6 separate regions of the Homo sapiens genome follow, and all the other regions are linked to region 1. Evidence: promoter capture Hi-C in 16 types of primary human blood cells and fetal thymus (Javierre and others, 2016). All regions are on one chromosome and are shown on one strand. The core of a region is centred on a gene start or on the middle of the fragment in contact, and the rest is flanking DNA. Distances in the headings are between cores, read along the strand shown.

Region 1 (3,398 bases), core at 104-2,603:
GCTCACCACCGTGCCCGGCTAATTTTTGTATTTTTAGTAGAGACGAGGTTTCACCATCTTGGCCAGGCTGGTCTCGAACTCCTGATCTTGTGATGCACCCACCTCGGCCTCCCAAAGTGCTGGGATTACAGGCATGAGCCACCGTGCCGGGCCCACACAACTTTTATATTCCATACTAGTACTTTCTAGACAATCAGAGCTAACTTTAAAGGGGCCACTGAAAGTTGCTGTTCGAAGGAAACCTACATTGACTATTACCATAAATTCAAAAATTATTTTACTCTGCTTGTCATCAGTAAAAGAATTGCTTGAATTGAAGCGTATGTAATAAACCTATCCTCTTGCAAAACTTGTTAGTGGCTCTGTGGTTAAGTAAGTCTTGAATACCTGAGGCTGCTTCTGGGAAGGTGGTCCTGTGCCACAGATAATGATGTCCCTTGGGTTTCTACTGATTACATTATGACTTGATTATAAGATTTTTACTGTCACGAGGGAGGGTCTTGGCTCATCTGAGATTTCCCTAGCCCCCTGAGTGGTGCTGAAATTGTTTTAATAAAGATGTTGCGCTTTACTCATGTGCTGCTATTAGCATTTGACGTGCTGTCTCAGAGCGAGAAAACGGAGGATCCCAACCTTCCAGTAGGAAGGCTTAGAGAAGAGGCTGTTGGCAAGTGTCTCTAAGAATTGCACAACACTGGCTGAGGGTGGGTTAAGGGTGAGGAGGCAGAGGAGAGTAAACAGAAAACACCGATCCCCAAATGTTAGTTACGCTTGCAAAAAACTAAGGCCTGCTTCAAAAAGCTGGTGATTAGCCTGAATAACTAGCAAAGCTTTCTTAGTTGTGGGCAAGTGCAGGCCTCCTAGGGCTTCCCTTAGGTTCGGCGATTCTGTGGTCCCCCTCCAAGCCTACTAATCAATAGAAGCTGGCATCTGTGCCCAGCTGCGCAAAGTAAACCTGAGTGGGAATGTAAAGTCGTTAACTCATACAAATACGGGACTTTCACGTCCCTCCCCATTCCTCCCTCTCCAGCCCCGTCCCGCAAACTCCTCCCCAAGGAGTCCCAAGCTGCCTCTACTAGGAAAGGACTCCCCGGCCTAAACGCCCCTTATGAAGCTACCAGAGAGGAGGAGGAGGAGCAGGAGTGTGAACCTACCTCGGCCTCAGAACAAGTCCGCAGAAACGGGCAGGACAATGGAAAGAAGTTTTGTTTCTCACCCGCTTCTTCCTCCCTAGTACGATGATGGGGAGCCGGTAGAAAACGCAAAGATGTTCTTTTGAATCCTGCTTTGCATCTAGGTGGGGTTGGCGTCCTTGTGTGAGTGTGTGTACACGGACGGAGATGGGGGCGTGGTGAGGTGTGGAGGGTCGGCGTGCCAGCCTCTGCGTAGTTGGGACCGCGCCCCGCTTCTCCGAGGAGGCCCCTCCCGCCTGGATCCGCCCTTGGAGCTGGCGCCGCAGCAGCACCCGCCCCAGGGGCCGCAGGGGCAGCCCAGGCAAAGAACGAGCCTGGGATCCGCGCTCCTTCCTCAGCTGGACCCCAACGGGCAGCAGCCGCGAGAGCACTGCCTCCACGGAGAGCAGATGGCGGGAAACTGGCTTCTGCTCCCAATTGCCAGGCGGCCCTTCAGAGACTACCCCTGGCTGAGCGTCCAGGAACCCATGAAACTTGGTCTTGACACTGGTCGACAGCACCATCTGCCACGTACTTATTCGCTGCTGCTTTCTTTGGCAGGACAGCCCATCGCGAGACAGTTTGTGTTTCAAATTTAACGGAGACTTTTTTTCAGTAGTTGACAAAAGGGGGTGGAAAAACAGTAGCCACGAGGGCTCGTCCGGGATTTGAACCCGGGACCTCTCGCACCCAAAGCGAGAATCATACCCCTAGACCAACGAGCCACTGTAGCTGAGTGGTGCTTCCTATCACTCTGAATTTCTCTTTTCCGCCTGCTGTTCTGAAGGTTTTTTGTTTTGTTTCTTTTCCTCTGTTGTGACATTTCCCTTAGGCCTTATTTAGTTATTCCTTCCATCTTCACCAAGTTTCAAGTGTGGCTTATTCTCTGGCTTATTCTCCTCGATCCAGATGCAGGATGGGGTGAAGGAAGGCAGCTTTTTAGACTTTAGGTCACATGCTTGTGTCTCACTGAGCCCGGGGAGCGATTTAAGCCCGCTAGGGCCTGGAGGGAACCTGGAGGGGGCTGAAATAGAGATCGAGGGCCAGAGCTGAGCTCGGTTGCAAGGCTGTAGGGTACTGAGCCCCAGGACAGACGCGCGATACGTATATATCTGCCGGCCTTTGGACTTAACGTAGAAGCCAAAATATAACACACTTCGGTAAGACAACAGTGCCTTCCCCCAACGGTGGGACGATTCGGGTCTACTATCTTTCAGAAAGGTAACCAACTTTTCAAGACGCGATTAACGCAGCCCACCTCGCGGCTAAGCTGTTTCCTTCGGACAAGGGTGAGAGACAGAAACAGATTTGATCACGTCAAGATACAGAGATTTTTTGCACAAACGAAGAGCAACCGTAAACCCCAAAACAGCAGCGTCTCCTTCGAGCCGGAATCGAACCAGCGACCTAAGGATGACCACACATTAAGTACTACAGTCCTCCGCTCTACCAGCTGAGCTATCGAAGGAAGCACGGAAACAACTCTCCTAAAAATCCCTACTCGAGACATCCTTAACCAGAGACGGGAAAGAAAGAAATCTCTTTATACCCGGAAAGTAATTACTGCAGAGTCACAAAGCCAGCTTGTAAGACAGTCCTGCGTCCGAGGTTCTGAGGACAACCTTTCTAAATCTGGATTCCCCTGCCTCACTGAGGGGCTCCCAAGCAGAGCAGGCGCCCCTGAAACTCGGGCATACCGAGGCTGCTCATCCTCTGGGCGCCCGAGGGCTGTTGGCCTCACTGGGCGCGGACCCAGGGGCCTCGCGAGCGTGGATGCGTGTGTTTGTGTGTAGGGTGGGGACCGGCACCTGGGCGTCGGAGAACTGGGGGCTGAGGCGGTGGGACGCACACAATTCTGACTGCGCAACTGTGAACGCCGGAGAGGGCGGGCCTCCAGGCTTAGGCCCGGGCTCCCTGATGTCCTCACTTCCTGCGCTTCCCTCCCAATCTCGGCTCTTCCGCTTACACGTCCACAGACACGGGAGGGAGAGGGTGTGGAATGGAGCAGTGGTCCCCAACATTTTTGGCACTAGGGACCGGTTTCGTGGAAGACAGTTTTTCCACGGACCGCGGGGGCGGGGGGAAGAGTTGGGGGATGGTTTCGGGATGAAACTGTTCCACCTCAGATCATCAGGCATCACTTAGATTCTCATAAGGAGTGCAGTTTAGATCCCTGGCATGCGCAGTTCCCAATAGGGTTCGCGCTCCTGTGAGATTCTAATGCCA
Region 2 (3,152 bases), core at 286-2,785, 190 kb after region 1:
ATGAGTAAGTTCAGGCAGTTTTGTTTCATTTTGGGTATTTGCACCAGTATTCGAGGTGTCCCAATCAGAGTGACTCATCTTGAATAAAGGCCAGATGAAGCCAAACCTGCTGGGTTACTTTCCCAGGAAATTGGGCACTGTTAATCACAAAATGTTTATGGTTGAGGAAATGAGTTGATGGAAAAAGGCATTCTTAGTTTAAAAATGGGTTTCTTGGATGGCATGGTGGCTCACACCTGTAATCCCAGCACTTCAGGAGGCCAAGGCAGTTAGATTGCTTGATCTCAGGAGTTCAAACCAGCCATGGGCAATGTCAGGCGTCTGAGCCCAAGCTTGCACGTGTAAGTATCCGGATGGCCTGAAGCAACTGAAGAATCACAAAAGAAGTGAAAACAGTCGATTCCTTCCTTAACTGATGACATTACCTTGTGAAATTCCTTCTCCTGGCTCAGAAGCTCCCCTACTGAGCACCTTGTGACCCCCACCCCTGCCCGCCAGAGAACAATCCCCTTTGACTGTAATTTTCCACTACCTACCCAAATCCTATAAAACAGCCCCACCCCATCTCCCTTTGCTGACTCCTTTTTTGGACTCAGTCCGCCTGCACCCAGGTAATTAAAAAGCTTTATTGCTCACACAAAGCCCGTTGGTGGTCTCTTCACACGGACACACGTGACAGGCAACATGGTAGAATCCTATCTCTATAAAAAAATAAAAATAAAAATTAGCTGGGCATGGAGACTGAGGTGAGAGAATCCAGAGGATCAAAGAGGATCGAGTCAAGGAGGTGGAGGCTACAGTGAGCCAAGATCGCACCACTGCACTCCAGCCTGGGCGACAAGAGTGAAATTCTGTCTTAAAAAAAAAGGTGGGTGGGAGGGTTTCTTGTGGTGGTGAAGGTGTAAGCAAATAAACACATAAAAATAAACATGGGTTTCACTTTAAAGATAATACTACACTCATAAATTATTGCTGAAATCAATAGTTACACCGGAGAATAACAATACTAATAGCCTGTCACAACTTGATCACAAGCCTTTATAATAAAGTAAACTATTCTTTTTTTTTTTTTTTTTTTTTTTTTTGAGATGGAGTCTGGCTCTGTTGCCCAGACTGAAGTGCAGTGGCGCAATCTCGGTTCACTGCAAGCTCCGCCACCCGGATTCATGCCATTCTCCTGCCTTAGCCTCCCGAGTAGCTGGGACTACAGGTGCCCACCACCATGCCCGGCTAATTTTTTGTATTTTTAGTGGAGATGGGGTTTCACCGTGTTAGCCAGGATGGTCTTGATCTCCTGACCTCGTGATCCACCCACCTCGGACTCCCAAAGTAAACTATTCTTAACCTTAATATCCTGTATAAGCAAGCATTACATTTAAAGTAGGGGCATTCCTCCTCTTGCTCTCTGAGGATGCCCTACTCTGTAATAGAGTAGTTTCTAATGAACTGTTTTAACTATACTGTACTCTGCGCCCTGTCCTTAATTCTTTCCTGCTCAAGATCGAAGAACTTGCTCTTGAGGTTTGGAACAGGAATCCTTTTCCAGTAAAACCAGTAGTTCAAACCACTCCCTGCTCCACCTCTGACTTCCTCTTTTGTTTTGAGAGAGGATCTGCAAGACACTAGCAGTTTTGAGGAAGAGTGAGCCCTAGGGAGGGAAATGCTCAGTGGCTCTGTACTAGCTCAACTGTTGGAAGTCAGCCTCACCCCACACACTGGCCTTTTCCTGATCCCTTTCTGGTCTGAGAATGGGCAGTGGCCAGATACTGCCATGAGTAGATGGGAGTGAAAATACTTAGAGATGAAGAGGAGGCAGGAGAAGGGGAGCTGAAATTTTCAAACAATTGTCACTGTGTGATATTTCAACTTCAGATAGTGGCCAAATAAGTTTCAGTGGGAACTGCGTTCAATCCAAATGACAAAACCACTAAAGTCTGAAGAAGATGTACCAGCTAAACTGGTAGCTTCTAATCTTTTGATCATCATGGGTTCTTTTTTCTTTCCTTTTTTTAAATAAAATTTTAAAAATTCCTTCCCAGGTAGCTGGGAGTACAGGTGGGCACCACCATATCCAGCTAATGTTTTAATTTTTTGTAGAGATGTAGAGATGGGGTTGCCCAACCTATTAGACCCTTTTTATTATTCCCAGCCCCCATAGGTCCCTATAAATATTTGTTAAGATATAGTTGTAACTTAGCAAATGTATCTGGGGGACCATGTCCAAAAAAACCAGATGGACACCCAGAAAGGGTTTCAGGAGGTGGAGGCTGCACAATTATCCAAGATACATTGGATCCTATCCACAACTTACAGGTGCAAACTTGATCTTATCTGAGTTTTTCAGTTTCTTTTTTTTTGAGATGGAGTCTCACTCTTGTCGCCCAGGCTGGAGTGCAGTGGCGTGATCTCGGCTCACTGCAACCACCACCTCCCGAGTTCAAGCTTCTCCTGCCTCAGCCTCCCAAGTAGCTGGGATTACAGGCACCCGCCACCACACCTGGCTAATTTTTGTATTTTTAGTAGACATGGGGTTTCACCATTTTGGCCAGGGTCATCTTGAACTCCTGACCTCAGGTGATCTGCCTGCCTCAGCCTCCCAAAGTGCTGGGATTACAGGCATGAACCACTGTGTCCAGCGCATTTTTCAGTTTCATGCGAGTTACTCACACCAACCAATCCCCAGTTAAAACTATGAACAAGATCTACATTGAAAAATATGTGCAGTGAAAATAAACCTGCCCCATACATTCTCTCCCTGACTCAAGTGGGAGACCAAACCTCAAAGAGATGATTGCTTGGTGAGCATCAGTGGTCAGCAGCGTCACAGTTCCTTCGGGCCAGGATAAGCTTGGGAAAATGTTTCTGACTTGAAATTAAGAAGTGAGCTAGTGTGTTACTCCTGGACAATGATGGTTTAGTAGAAAGCAATTCTCAAAATTTAGAATTTCCCTTTCCAATTTCCAAACTCTCCTATCTCCTTCTTAAAATACATTAGCATGTTTGTTGATTTGTATTCTTTTATACTCCACCTCATTCCAAGATAGGATTAAAGTCAGCTTGCAAAACTGTCTGCAATAAATAATCACACAAATCAAATTTAGGTGAGAGAAAAGAGGCAGGATACAACTTGATTGATTATGCCATCACTGTAT
Region 3 (3,297 bases), core at 592-3,091, 230 kb after region 1:
AAGGTGGAAAACGTATTATCAATTCAGCAGAACATTTATTGAATAATCTATATGCTAAGTCATAGATACGCACGGGTTAAACAGTCTCTTGGCCTAAGGAGTTCGAGTCAAGCAGCACAATATTCAAACAATTCTAAGCTAGATAAATGAAAACAAATATAGAGAGGTAAGAAAGTCTTACATGCTATGCCAAGGAGATGTGTTTTTTCTATAGGCAGTGGATAGCAAGCTAAGATTTTTAAGCTATGGTTAATGGAATGGAGGACATGCTTCATATGGAATGCAATGCAGGAAGATAAAATGGAGGAAGTATAGTGAAGAGGTTTTTGCAACATTCTGGGAAGAGGAGAGAACACTAAAAAAGAAAATGGCAATGGAAGTGAAGGAACAGACATTTAGGAAATACAACTGGCAAGACTGGGGAAGCCCCACAGAAAACTACGGGCAGGAGAAAAATAAAACAGCCTGAAGGCTAAACGGAGAAAAGGGGTGACTAAACCCTAAGACCATTCAATACTAAAAAATGTCTCTTTCCCTCAAATTCCACTCACATCTAATCCTTTCTTCTTAATCCAGGCTCGAAGCCCATCCACATTCCAAGAGCAGATCTTGAGTGTGGCAGGTTTGCCACTGGGTGAGGTTTTCTGATCTGGGGGGTCCTCATACAGGGCTGGGCCCTCTCCTGCTGCCTCTTTGTCATTTTTCTTTGCGGCCGTCTTACTCTTCTTGGCCTCTGGCTCTATAAAATGAGTAATATATACTGACAAAAAGCTGGTGGTTTCCAACTGCGATCCGGCGTTAACTATAGACCCAACGAAAGCCTACGGTTCCTGCGACTTCTTCACAAACCCCTGCAAAAATGAGTCGGCCCGTACTTACCGTACATCAAGGGAATGACAAACACCCCCGCCGCAGCTTCTAGGAAGAAGGGCTGATTTCATTCCCTTACCTGTCCTGAGCTCATCCCCGTCTTCCGCCACCGCTCCCTTTTTCCCACGCTTCGGCATTCCCGTTACGAACGCCCTTGGGCAGCTGTACCGCGTCACCCACCGAAGCAATATTTTTACCGCGTTGCCTACAGACGCAAAGAAATCATGAAACCAGCTAAGGCTGGGGAGAAGACTCCTCCCAAGAGCGTCCCCGCACCAGGTCCCGCCTTTCAAACCACGTTATCTCTAAATCCTTTCCCCGCCTCCGTGCATCATAGGCCCTTCAGCCCCTCACCCACGAAACTAGATCATTTCATAGTGCCTTGTACCCTACTCGCGAGATCTGCCCTCCAGCCAATTGAGGATCTTAATTAAGGGTCCTGACTCAAGCTTGCCGTTCAGACTGCCAGCGAAGCCCCTCTTATGAGCAAAAGAGCAACCCCGTATCTGCACCGGCCCGATGGCAGCCTAGCTCCTCCTAACCCGAGCACAAAGAAGGGTGCACGCTGAGCCCCCACGTGGGTAGCGGACCTGGTCACGTGATCAGAGGCGCGCTTGTCGTGGCCGAAGAATGCGCGTGATTGGTCTGTCTGACACCACGTGACGGAGACGCTTAGCCTCGCCTCCCTCCTCTAATTCTCTAGGACACTTAGGTCCCCAACCCTCCCTCGGGCTGTTTATCGTTGTGCCAGATGCACAGCACATTGTGTGACACTGACTTAAGATTCTAACTATGTGCAAGAGGGAAAAAAACAGTGGAGAAGGCTGGGCTGGACCACGGGAAAGAGATAGGAAAACGGATACGAATGTAAGGCACAGAGTTGGCTCGGCGTCCCTGGCAGTTAGGAAGACAGGTCCCTGGAGGGGCCTTGGCGGGTCTCCGCTCGCGGGAGTTCCGCGGTGTCTTTCCCAGTGCTATCTGCAGGCTGGCCAGCTTCCTCTGCGCTCCGGAAAGCTGCGGCCCAGCGCGGACTAGTGAGGACCTCCACAGCTCCTGACATTGCCAGGAGTCCTGTCGGCGTTTTCTCCCAGCCTCCGCCATGCCGGCGGTGCTGGGTTTTGAAGGCAGCGCCAATAAGATTGGCGTGGGCGTGGTGCGGGATGGCAAGGTGCTGGCGAACCCGCGGCGGACTTACGTCACGCCTCCTGGCACAGGTTGGTGAGTAGGGGACTTAAGAGTTTTCCGCGCACTTCCCCGCACAGAATCAGCCTTCCATCTTCCTAAATACTAGTGAGGTGCAGCTTTCGATCCGAGTCTCATTGAAATTATGTGACATTATTAACGTCACAAGGCTGATGACTAGAAGAGTTACAGGCACTTGGACGTGGATCTGATGAGTTCATTTACCTTTTACTGAGCGCATTTTATGTGCTAAGTATTCAGAAATAGATGTTATACTGCTGTGGAGTCAGACATATAAATAGATGTTTATACTACAGCATGATAAACAGTATAATAGAGATGGACTCGAAATATTCTGTTTAAAAAACGCTTAGCAGGAGTATAGATTCCAGTTGCCCTGAATATACACTCCCTTTTTAAAAAAAAATTATTTTTTGAAATATTCTAGGATGAGTAGAGAGATGAGAGTGGAAAGACTCCCGGCTTACATGTCAGACAGAACTGGCTGGCTTTGCTATATTCATATTAAATATTTTTGTTTTGGACATTTGGTCTTTATTTTTTATTTTATTTTATTTTTTTGAGACAGAGTCTTGCTCTGTCGCCCAGGCTGGAATGCAGTGGCACGATCTCGGCTCACTGCAATCTCTGCCTTCCAGGTTCAAGCGATTCTTCTACCCCAGCCTCCCAAGTAGCTAGGACTATAGGTGTGCGCCACCACATCCAGCTAAATTTTGTATTTTTAGTAGAGTCGGGGTTTCCACCAGGCCAAGCTGGTCTCGAACTCCTGACCTCAGATGATCCGCCCACCCCAGCCTCCCAAAGTGTGGAAATTACAGGCATGAGCCACCGCTCGGGCCTGGTCTTTGTTTTTAAAATGGGAATAATACCTGTATCATTAGGTCTTGAAGATTAGATGAAAGTACCAAACACGGCTGGGCGTGGTGGCTCACGCCTGTAATCCCAGCACTTTGGGAGGCCAAGGCAGGCAGATCACCTGAGGTCGGGGTTCGAGACCAGCCTGACCAACATGGAGAAACCATGTTTCCACTAAAAAATACAAAAAATTAACTGGGCGTGGTGGCGCATGCCTGTAAACCCAGCTACTTGGGAGGCTGAGGCAGGAGAATTGCGTGAACCCGGGAGACAGAGGTTGCAGTGAGCCGAGATGGTGCCATTGCACTCCAGCCTGGGCATCAAGAGTGAAACTCTGTCTCAAAAAAAAAAAAAGTACAAAACACATTA
Region 4 (3,272 bases), core at 315-2,814, 210 kb before region 1:
GCTGGAGACTTGATGTGCCCATTTAAAAGAAATATCCCTGAGGCTAAACTTTTCTTTATCTTGGTTTCACCTTATTTATAGCATTCTTGACTTTTTCTACTTTCTTCTTTTCTATTTTCTATCATAACGTTCAATTCTATCAAAATTTATCATTCATAAATCATAATGAAGCACGTGCATTTTCAGCTGATTCACTGCAGCTCTTTTTTTCTTGGGATAGAAATCATGTCAATAAAAACCATAGTCGGACCATAAAGCATCAAATGGGACCTCAATATCAAATTGGGCTCAATTCTGGAATACAACTAAAACAAGTGGAGATCTATACACAAGTTATAGGTTGGTGTTGGGGGAGGAGTCAGTGGATGGAAAATTGCTTAGAGGAGATATTAAGGCTAGGGAGACCAATGCTAAGTTGACTCAATTGGATTTTTTTTTAAGGCAGGCCTGGAATCAGGTATCACATGAAGGATGATGGGGGAATTAAGGAATTTGGTCAGATATTGAGGGGGAGAGATTCATGATAAACCCAAATCTCTAGAGCAGATTGTCACTAAATGACAGCAGAGCGGCCGAGGAAGACACACAGACACTTCCAGATGAATTTGCAAAGCAGTTTATTGCAGGGTTCACAAGGGACTTCAGCTCAGGAAAGCTGAAGGGGTATGGAGACTGATGAGGACAGTTGCTGATACCCAGAGTACATGGAGGGATGGGATCTTGGCTATGATTGAGGAGCTTGGCAGATGAGTGATGATGAGGACTGCTGATACAGGAGCTTAGATGGTGGTATCCAGGTGAACTGGAACCACAGGATACCGTGGAGAATCCCGTGGATCTCTGTTGTCACATGCAACTACATAGAACCTCCTTCCTGGTCTGTCTGCATACGTGCAGTTTGAAATATTCTGTGCACCTGGATTTATGAGGTCACAGTGGAGTAAAGGCACCCGGAATCTACTCCGATGACAATTGTTGAGAGTTCTGTTATGAGGGCAGCGTATACTTTGGTTACCACAAACATTAACTACATTAGCAAAAGTTGTACGAAGAAAAGTATTTTGGTTTTTGCAACGCCATCGATAATTGTTAATTGCCCGCATTGCAATGGTGCATCGAGGGGGGTTCAGACTGATGTGCTGGATGGCAAACCACTGAGCCCTCGTAAACTGTGGGGGTCTGGCATGGAGTGAGCCCTCCACACCCATAAGCCCCAACAGAAGAAGCAGACAAATTTGGGAAGTGAACAGTTTTGGAACCATGTTTCCTGTAAGAAAAGAAGAGAAGTAACTACTCCCCGATCCGGTCTCGGTTATGACACACTCTATAGTGTCTCAACCCACAGGCCCCTCTGCTGCCACTCTGGGGTCGCATTTCCTTTTCTTCCTGTCCCCAAAGTGTGCCACATCTCCTAAGCACTAACTTCAGCTCACCTCTCCCTCAGGTGCTGCCCTGTCGCTGCCCCTCCTGTCCCAGCTCTGGGGATTGTTGACTTACCCAGTCTCTGAGCTGTGGCTCCTGTGAGAACTGATCCAGCTGGTTGTTCTGGGGTTCAGGGGCAGCTGGTCTCCCCTACTTGGAACTGTTTAAATAAAGCTTCCCTTGGTGGGTCTGGCCATGCAGAAACCCACAGATTGACACATGGTCCACTTGTGCAATCATCCTTTTTATTTGATGACTTGGCTGAGCAACGGATACCCAAGGACAGCCCTGCTGCTCTTTCTGCTATACGGACTCTAATTCCAAGTCATCCTGTGTTAGACAGAGTTTTGCCGGTGGGATCTGGACTCTGGGTGAAAACTATACGCTGCCGGCAGAATGACCACAGATTTTATAACTGTCCTCTGGCAGGCCCCTAAATGACTAAATGACACGAAGGCAGGCATAGTAGTTAGGAGAAATAGAGCCACAGAGGGCTGTTTGCCCAGGAGAAACCCAGCTTCCCTTCCATTTTTAGTAATATCCTTGGTTCTCTCTCACATAAATGCTCTCCATCTCATCCACCACTCTTGCTGGAAACTTGAGCTATTAATTTCTTGGGGCACAAGATTCTGTAGATAATTAAAACAATCTGCTCCATACAATTGAGGAATTTTTTTCTTTACTCCTCTTGCATTGGATCCACTTTCTCTTAAGTCTTGCCCTGATTATTGATTCCACTTTGTGTAAAGTTACATAACCTAAAAACACACCGAGGACAGTTGTAAAATCTGGCAGAGGATGAATGAACATTTGGTGTCATGAAAGATTCCAACCTAGCACTCGGTATTCCTGTGATCTTTTCAGCCTATGGTATTTTCTACAAAACAGTGTGTTCTGGGGTTGTCATTCATCTTCCTGGTAAGTTTCATTTTGTGATATTAACAAGAATATGGTTCTGTATTTACAAATGAACATTTAAGGACAGAGCACTGTATTCCTGAAAGTATAGAGGTCAAGTGTACAGTTTGATACACAAAGCATACATTTATTCTTGGCCCTCAGAGAAACACAGGAAAGTACTTGTAGACATATAATTGTATTACAGTGTGATAGAGGTAATAGCATTTGTGTGAACATGGTGTCATAGGGACACTGCTGGTGAAGGAAATCACTTGGCTTGAGAAATAAGGAAAACTTCAAAAAAAAGTTTATTTCAGCAGGTCCTAAAGGATAAGCAGGGGATTTTCAGGGGATTTAGAGAAGAGATGAGCATTCTGGGCACAGGGGATGATGTGGGGAAATTGTACAGAGGTGAGAAGTGAATTGCAAAGGTAAGGCCTGGGTACTAACAGATGTTAAATCTGGTCTAGCTTTGAGATTAGAAAATGGAAAGTAGACCCTTAAATGATATAATATACCTTCCAACAGTTAATCTGCCTAATTTTTACTACCGTCCAATTTTCCTGTCATTTAGAAATGCAATAATTTTATCACTGGGGTCCTTAGGTAAATGTGGACACAATGGTGACCTGGTGAGGACTCAATGCGCAGCTAATATTGCTCTGCCTTGAAGTCCTGTTCTGGCCGACATTCATTAGCAGCTTTATCATGAGGCAAGTTTATTTTTTCATGTATATTGTGTGGAGATCATTTTTGTAGGTGATGAGAATGTAAAGGTGAATGATACGTAGAGTATCCCCTCTGTGATGCTGACAGCCACACTGGCTAGAAACATTTGCACTTAAGTGTCTATAGTATGAGGCAAAAGACATAGACTGCAGCCCCAGGGCAGGTACTTGGCTAAACAGTGCTTCTTTTCAGCATACACAGTGCTATTTATGATGTTTGGT
Region 5 (3,293 bases), core at 192-2,691, 130 kb after region 1:
CTATACTGTTTTCCACAGTGGCTGAACCATTTTACATTCCAATCAGTAGTGCACTAGGGTTCCAGTTTCTCAAAACCCTCATCAATACTTCTTTTTTTAATATCTAATAGCAATTTCAATGGATATGAAGTGGCGATGCAACACTAACTTTAAATTATACTTACTCAGTGAAAGAATGTAGGCAAAGCATTCCCAAGAGTAAGAAAAACTATAAACACAGCATTTTGTTTCCTAACCAGAATAAACCCAATTGGTATTCTCTTTGAAAATTTCTGATGTCTATGATGTTATTGATTAAGTAAATAGGAGAAAAGTCTAGCCCAATGAACAGACAGCACAGTTGCTCCCGTCCCTTTGTGTTAGTGGAAGTTGCGAGACAAAGTAGTAAATGCCATTTTTGCTCATTTCTGCTTGCCAGCATAATTTCACAAAGCCCCTCACTCTATGACAACCTGCAGCTCTTTGAGAAGAATGTTTGAAGATACCACAGAATAGAGTGCACGGTCCCCATGCTCCGTGTCTGTTTACCTGACTCACTATATTCCTAAAGATAAATTACACCAGTCCTTGCGTTTTCTTACGCATAAAATAAGGTCTGACCAGGTTAGTGATTATACTCCTGTAATCTATAACCAGATGTACTCTTACACCCAAACCTTGATGTGATTCTGCTTTAATGTAACTTCTGAGCAAATTTGATGTGATTTCACATATACTGAATCTTTACCACCTGTAAATTGTCAACTAAAATACTGCATGGGAGCCATCTAATAGAACCCCTCTAAAGGGCTGCTCCTGGGCTATAGGCCTCCCAGCCTGTAGACCTCAGTAAGACTTCTGAATAAAACTAATTTTAATTATTTAAAAGTTGGATCTTTTTTTTCTTTAGTTGACAGGATTCTCCAGGGGAACAGCATCAATAGGATAGGTATACGTAAGGGAATTTTTTAGGGAGAATTGGCTCACATGATTAAAAGCGAAGTCCCACAATAGGCCGACAGGCCATATGCAAGCTAGAGAATGACAGAAGCTGGTAGCAAGCAAGGTTGTTAGAGAAGCTGGTCTGAGGCTGAAGGCCTCAGAGCTGCCACAGGGTGGGAAGGTTGTGGGGAGCAAGCAGTCAATTGAATGGTGCCTGCCCACATTGAGGGCAGGTCTTCCTCTCTCAGTCTCACCTGCCAGTCTCCTCTGGAAACTGCCTCACCTGCCAATCTCCTCTGGAAACACCCCCACAGACACCCCCAGGAACAGTGCTTCACCAGCCATCTAGGCATCCTTCAACCCAATCAAGCTGACACCTAATTTAACCATTCACACCTTTCTATTCTAGCACGATATTCTTAGATGACATTAGGAAAAGAATAAAACCAAAGCTACTAACTATCCCTGTGCTGCTCCTTGAAAATTGGTGATGCTAAATTGAACCCTATTCATTTGCCCTGTAATATTTTGGTACAAAGTTGAATTAATATTCCTGATAAATTCAGAGCCAATAACTTTTATTCATATATATATATATGTATATATTGTAGCAGTCACAATACCTCACACAGTATCTTCTCTATAATATAAAATTTTCGAAGTGTTTTTATATACCCTTTCACTGTTCATCATTACCTCTTGTGTCACAAGTAAGGGGATCATATTCTCTGTCCACTGTTTCCTATTTTTCCTGTCACACAACAAATAAGGATTAAAAAATGAAATCACATATTTTATCCCAATCTTTCTTCTCTTTCTCTAAGATGGATCTTTCTCACATGTCTCTGACATAAGATCATGACATTTGTGAACTGTCATATTTTTAGAAACACAAGGAAGCAGTGGCTCATCCCTTCCTCATCACATCTGATGCATTCATTGCATAATTTGCATTGAATACAAGAAGAAATATTCCACCTAAGTTTCCATAGTTGAAAGATTACAAGAGCTAGTCATCAATATCAAGTTCTTCTTGAAAGATCAAAGGAGATACCTGGAGCCTTTGGAGCGTGCTTCGAGTCCTATCAAACTGAAGGTAAATTAGTCTTTAACCAAGTGAGATTTTGAATTCAGGGGCATTTCCCATAAGATAGAATGATGACACTGACATGTTTTCCAGCTACTAGATTATAACTTCAAGTGAACAAGAACATTCGCAGTGATGGGTATATACACAAATGTGCTGCCTTACTTAATTCAAAATATTCAAATATTTGACATTATTCCATTGTCAAAGATTTTCTTCCTTCTCTTTTTAAAATATGTTCATTACAAGTGGGTACAAGCAACTCACCACTTCAATATACACCCTAGTGTAATAATGCCCTAGTATTTCCATAACGAAATGCATAGTATTTCAAGCATTCTCTCATTCTTTTCTATCCTCAATGCCTAATGCCTGCCACTTAATATTCAATAAGTATTTTTAAATGAACAAATACATTACATATAATACAGAATTTTCAATTATATAAACATTTTGATGAACTAATTTTTTACCCATATTCCACAGCATGCACTGTGTTCATTGTTCAGGTGAGAGATCAACAAAGGGGAGAGCAGCACATTTTTGGATTTTCCATATTGGTCTAGGAACCTGTGCAGCAAACATCAAAATAGAGAGTGGGCTTCTAAGGAGGAGGGAACATTAAGAATATGAAAGGGAGGAATTTCAGGAGAAAATAAGAGTAAGAGAATGAGGGATTTTACCCTGCTTGAGAGGCAGGATGGAAGATGACCAAGGGTTGGACATGAAAAGAACTCTAAGGAGGTGTTTACAACAGGAAGAAGAGTAAGGTCAGTAAAGGGGCACTGCTAGTACCTGGGAACTAAGGCAATAGTGAGTGTTACCCAATGTCTGCCCTTTCATACCTCCTGCCCCTTTCTGTACGGAGAATGTGGAGGTCACAGGGGAGGGCAGAGGGAGAAAGAAAGTCCTAGGCCTGTGTTCCAATAGCATGCATGCCCACTTGTTAATTTTTGGTGGGGCATTGAAGACTTAATAGTTGCCATAATCTACTCCAATTTAAGATATAGGTTGCATCTTTAGAAAAATGGACATTGAAAGCTTATTAGCGACTCATTTTTTGAAATTTTGACCCCAGCATTTGGAGAAGTTTCTAGTGAAAGAAGTTCAACAAGTAAGTGAAGATCTGAGACTACTGGTCCTGTAGCTTGTAGTAATTAAGATGTAGAAAAAATTAATGCAACAATGATTCCAAAATACAGTAGTTCAAACAAATAGGAGTTTATTTATCAGCAGGGTCCAGTGGCTCACACCTGTAATCCCAGCACTTTGGGAGGCCGAGGCG
Region 6 (3,034 bases), core at 371-2,870, 210 kb after region 1:
TGTACCCCTGTAAATCTATAAAAATTAAAATTAAAAATAGGCCAGGTGCGGTGTCTCACACCTGTAGTCCCAGCACTTCGGGAGCCCAAGACAGGCGGATCAACAGGCCAGGAGTTCAAGACCACCCTGGCCAACATGGTGAAACCTCATCTCTACTAAAAATACAAAAATTAGCCAGGTGTGGTGGCACATGCCTGTAATCCCAGCTACTCGGGAGGCTGAGGTGGGAGAATCTCTTGAACTTGGGAGGTGGAGGTTGCAGTGAGCCGAGATCACAACACTACACTCGAGCCTGGGTGACAGAGCGAGACTCTGTTTCAAAATAAAGTGAGTACAGTGAATGCAGTAATTATAGACCTCTTCAAATTTTTCAAAGTTCTCAAAACATGTATTCTTATCTATTGCCCTAACTTAATTACCTGCCTCCTCAGTCCAGCAAGCAAGCTCATAGTATACTTACTCTGGCTTCTTAAAGAAGAGGCTACTGAACAAGGGGGAAAGAATTTGAACGCATGCAAGTGTCTCTTTCCTTATGACCCACGGAACAGTCCTATGGGAACACATGCCCACGGAGGGGTGCGTGGGAGTGCAAAGATAACTCCCCACAGACATAACAGCCATTATTACCATTTCTTTTATCTGGCAGTCACTTCTAATAGACGGCCAACCTATCCCTTAGGGAATGGGAGAGGGACTAGAACCAAGAGGAAGAGCTGAGAAATTCTCAAAGATAGAGGAGCTTATGCAAAAAAACAAAACAAAAACAGTAATAAAGTTGACAAAGGAAACCCAAGTGGAGTATAAAAAATAAACATGTTGATAAGCTTAAAAAAACTAACCCACTTATCATTTAATGCAGTGCCCTTCTCACTGGGGGTAGGAGTGGCCAGTGGAGCCAGCGTCACTACTATCTCCCTTAGAGAAGTATGCCCTTCACACACCCTCTGTTAATATTTCCCTCACCTTCTCCCTCTGCTCTTCCAGTCTTGTGTTAAAGAGTTTAAAAAAATAGCTATTAAAGGTCTTTTCCTGCTGACAGGTCTTAAAAAAAAATTCTTAACTCTCCAGGGAAAAGAAGATAGAAATCTTAAAAATTAATAAATAAACCAACAGAAGTTAGTTATTTGAGAAATTACGTAAACCAAATAAACAACCCTTGCCCTTTACTTGGCCCCTGTCACCTGGCCCTCTTCTGAGTCTTAGCCTCAGTCCACTGACACACACATGTCCTGTCTCTTATGGGATGTCTGCTAGAGGCATCTCCTAAAGTCACTCTGACTCATGGTGGGCTTTTCTCCTCTCTTACAACATTTGTCTTCAGTGAAATGCTAGGTCAAGGAGTAGAAACATTGGCCTCCTTGGTTGTGTTCCACAGAATTCCAAGAACATCCCTCAGTCCCATTCCCCACTTTCCCTTGCCAGTACCTGTACTTCGGGGAAAGTTGGGGATTTCACCGTAGTCAAAGATCTGGGCCTGAGTTAATTTATCAGTCAGACCTCCTAATCCAGAACCACAGATTATTGCAACTTGAGGTCGGTGCTTAGTGTGAGACAGAAGCCATTCTGCAGTGTTCTTATAATCTTCATAGGTGTATCTGGGGGAGAAAAAATATCAAGGTGAATTCTGCTCCCATTCCAAGGGCATCACAGACAAATGACCTTCGGTGCAAAAAGGCTGGCAGGTATACTGAGGCAGCAGGGACGGAGAAGCTGGCACAGAGGGAAAGGCCATACTATGCTCTTCCATCTACTCAGCCACCCTTCTTTCTGAATCAAGCCCACTACAAGTCTGATATGAAACTACCTCCATTCTAGAGCCTGGCAAAAGTTAATAAAGCCTGTTTCTACTAACAGGCCCAACTCCAGTGTTGGATCCACTGAACACTGGCAAGCTGCATACTTATCCTTATGACAAAGGTTTAGAGAGGAAGGGGCCAGAGTGTACGGGGAAGTGCAAGGAAATAATCAAATTAGGGAGGGTAAAAGGGCTTGGCCAGGAGGGAGCCCAAGAAGAGTACTCAAAATGGGATTAAGCCCTTCCTGAGGGTGGTGCCCACCTAGTAAAATCCCCCTTATTACCTTACCTGTTCCCCAAAGACATTCAAAATGTAATTAAGACCAACTACTATGAAGGCAGAGATAAACTCAAATTTCCTTTTGAACCCTCATTCCTCCAGTTCCTTCCTCAGCCAAAGACTTAAGGGCTACATTTCTTTTTTGTTTTAACCAATAAAACACAATGGGACCACCCCTGGTAGAGGTCTACGTGCCATTCTTAGCTCCCTGGATCACAAGGGGGTTAATTCCAGACAAAAAACTAGATAAACTGCTGTACAAAAAAGCAGACCCAGTCCACAGTACTGGTTGTCAAAGGTTAAACCAGGACTGACTACACAAATTCTCAGCAGAAGCTTGTTAGAAAAACAGATTCTGGCACTCCAGCCTGGTGACAGAGTGAGACCCTATAAAAAACACACACACACACACACACAAAACCCCCACAAAAAACAGATTCTGAAGCCCATGTAATTTTGATTTTAAAACCAGGTTTAGGGGCTGGGCGCGGTGGCTCATGCCTGTAACCCCAGCACTTTGGGAGGCCGAGGTGGGCGGATCACGAGGTCAGGAGATCGAGACCATCCTGGCTAACATGTTGAAACCCCGTCTCTACTAAAAATACAAAAAAAAAAAAAAAAAAAAAAAAATTAGCCGGGCGTGGTGGCGGGCCCCTGTAGTCCTAGCTACACGGGAGGCTGAGGCAGTAGAATGGTGTGAACCCGGGAGGCAGAGGTTGCAGTGAGCCAAGATCGCTCCACTGAACTCCAGCCTGGGAGACAGAGCGAGACTCCGACTCCAAAATAAATAAATAAAAATAAAATAAAATAAAACCAGGTTTAGGAATTGCTGGTCTGGAGGGAAGCAGAATTCGACCTAGATTCTAGTCCCAATATTGTCTTTTTAGGCATGTAATTTGTGCTTTAAATTATTTTCTCAGGTATAAACAAGGGATGTAAATTGGCCCCATCTATCTTAT

The links. The method cuts DNA at HindIII sites, captures the fragments that hold promoters and counts their contacts. A CHiCAGO score of 5 or more calls a contact.
Region 2: a fragment that was not itself captured here is called in contact with the fragment with the promoter of RNASE4 in region 1 in 10 of 17 cell types (M0 macrophages, activated CD4 T cells, non-activated CD4 T cells and 7 more); the score reaches 7.8 in M0 macrophages.
Region 3: the fragment with the promoter of OSGEP here is called in contact with the fragment with the promoter of RNASE4 in region 1 in 15 of 17 cell types (megakaryocytes, total CD8 T cells, naive CD4 T cells and 12 more); the score reaches 16.2 in megakaryocytes.
Region 4: the fragment with the promoter of RNASE3 here is called in contact with the fragment with the promoter of RNASE4 in region 1 in 10 of 17 cell types (neutrophils, megakaryocytes, erythroblasts and 7 more); the score reaches 15.8 in neutrophils.
Region 5: a fragment that was not itself captured here is called in contact with the fragment with the promoter of RNASE4 in region 1 in 1 of 17 cell types (M0 macrophages); the score reaches 5.2 in M0 macrophages.
Region 6: a contact is called between a fragment that was not itself captured here and the fragment with the promoter of RNASE4 in region 1, in 16 of 17 cell types (total CD8 T cells, activated CD4 T cells, fetal thymus and 13 more). The highest score is 15.0, in total CD8 T cells.

The regions. Positions count from the first base shown.
Region 1 is chr14:20,682,515-20,685,912 of GRCh38, reverse strand. It overlaps RNASE4 (ribonuclease A family member 4), which reads right to left and starts at 1,353. Exons shown (of 2, transcript NM_002937.5): 1 at 1,155-1,353. TRY-GTA5-5 (tRNA-Tyr (anticodon GTA) 5-5) reads right to left here and starts at 2,640; the gene lies at 2,552-2,640. It overlaps TRP-TGG3-2 (tRNA-Pro (anticodon TGG) 3-2), which reads right to left and starts at 1,897; the gene lies at 1,826-1,897. It also overlaps a transcript of ANG not described here. RefSeq lists enhancers at 1,062-1,201, 2,002-2,131, 2,272-2,461, 2,662-2,971 and silencers at 1,432-1,551, 1,822-1,871. The HindIII fragment of the contact is 4,966 bases long and covers 833-3,398 here.
Region 2 is chr14:20,492,298-20,495,449 of GRCh38, reverse strand. No RefSeq gene overlaps it. Among named protein-coding and RNA genes, the nearest start is that of RNASE10, 12 kb to the left of the region's middle. The HindIII fragment of the contact is 1,819 bases long and covers 626-2,444 here.
Region 3 is chr14:20,453,356-20,456,652 of GRCh38, reverse strand. It overlaps OSGEP (O-sialoglycoprotein endopeptidase), which reads left to right and starts at 1,841. Exons shown (of 11, transcript NM_017807.4): 1 at 1,841-2,084. The coding sequence starts at 1,970. APEX1 (apurinic/apyrimidinic endodeoxyribonuclease 1) reads right to left here and starts at 1,427. Exons shown (of 5, transcript NM_001641.4): 1 at 1,259-1,427; 2 at 950-1,075; 3 at 552-739. The coding sequence starts at 1,007. RefSeq lists enhancers at 1,164-1,383, 1,804-1,893, cis regulatory regions at 1,445-1,450, 1,466-1,471, 1,484-1,516, 1,527-1,532, 1,529-1,570 and 2 more, promoters at 1,318-1,652, 1,317-1,854, 1,484-1,928 and a silencer at 3,191-3,297. The HindIII fragment of the contact is 3,687 bases long and covers 1,322-3,297 here.
Region 4 is chr14:20,889,677-20,892,948 of GRCh38, reverse strand. RNASE3 (ribonuclease A family member 3) reads right to left here and starts at 1,564. Exons shown (of 2, transcript NM_002935.3): 1 at 1,498-1,564; 2 at 601-1,267. The coding sequence starts at 1,262. The coding sequence ends at 780. All of the region lies in intron 1 of LOC100507513 (a long non-coding RNA gene), which reads left to right. The HindIII fragment of the contact is 4,045 bases long and covers 1-1,598 here.
Region 5 is chr14:20,549,673-20,552,965 of GRCh38, reverse strand. No RefSeq gene overlaps it. Among named protein-coding and RNA genes, the nearest start is that of RNASE9, 9.7 kb to the left of the region's middle. The HindIII fragment of the contact is 3,221 bases long and covers 1-3,051 here.
Region 6 is chr14:20,470,869-20,473,902 of GRCh38, reverse strand. PNP (purine nucleoside phosphorylase) reads right to left here. Exons shown (of 6, transcript NM_000270.4): 2 at 1,426-1,595. Among named protein-coding and RNA genes, the nearest start is that of PNP, 3.0 kb to the right of the region's middle. The HindIII fragment of the contact is 1,587 bases long and covers 827-2,413 here.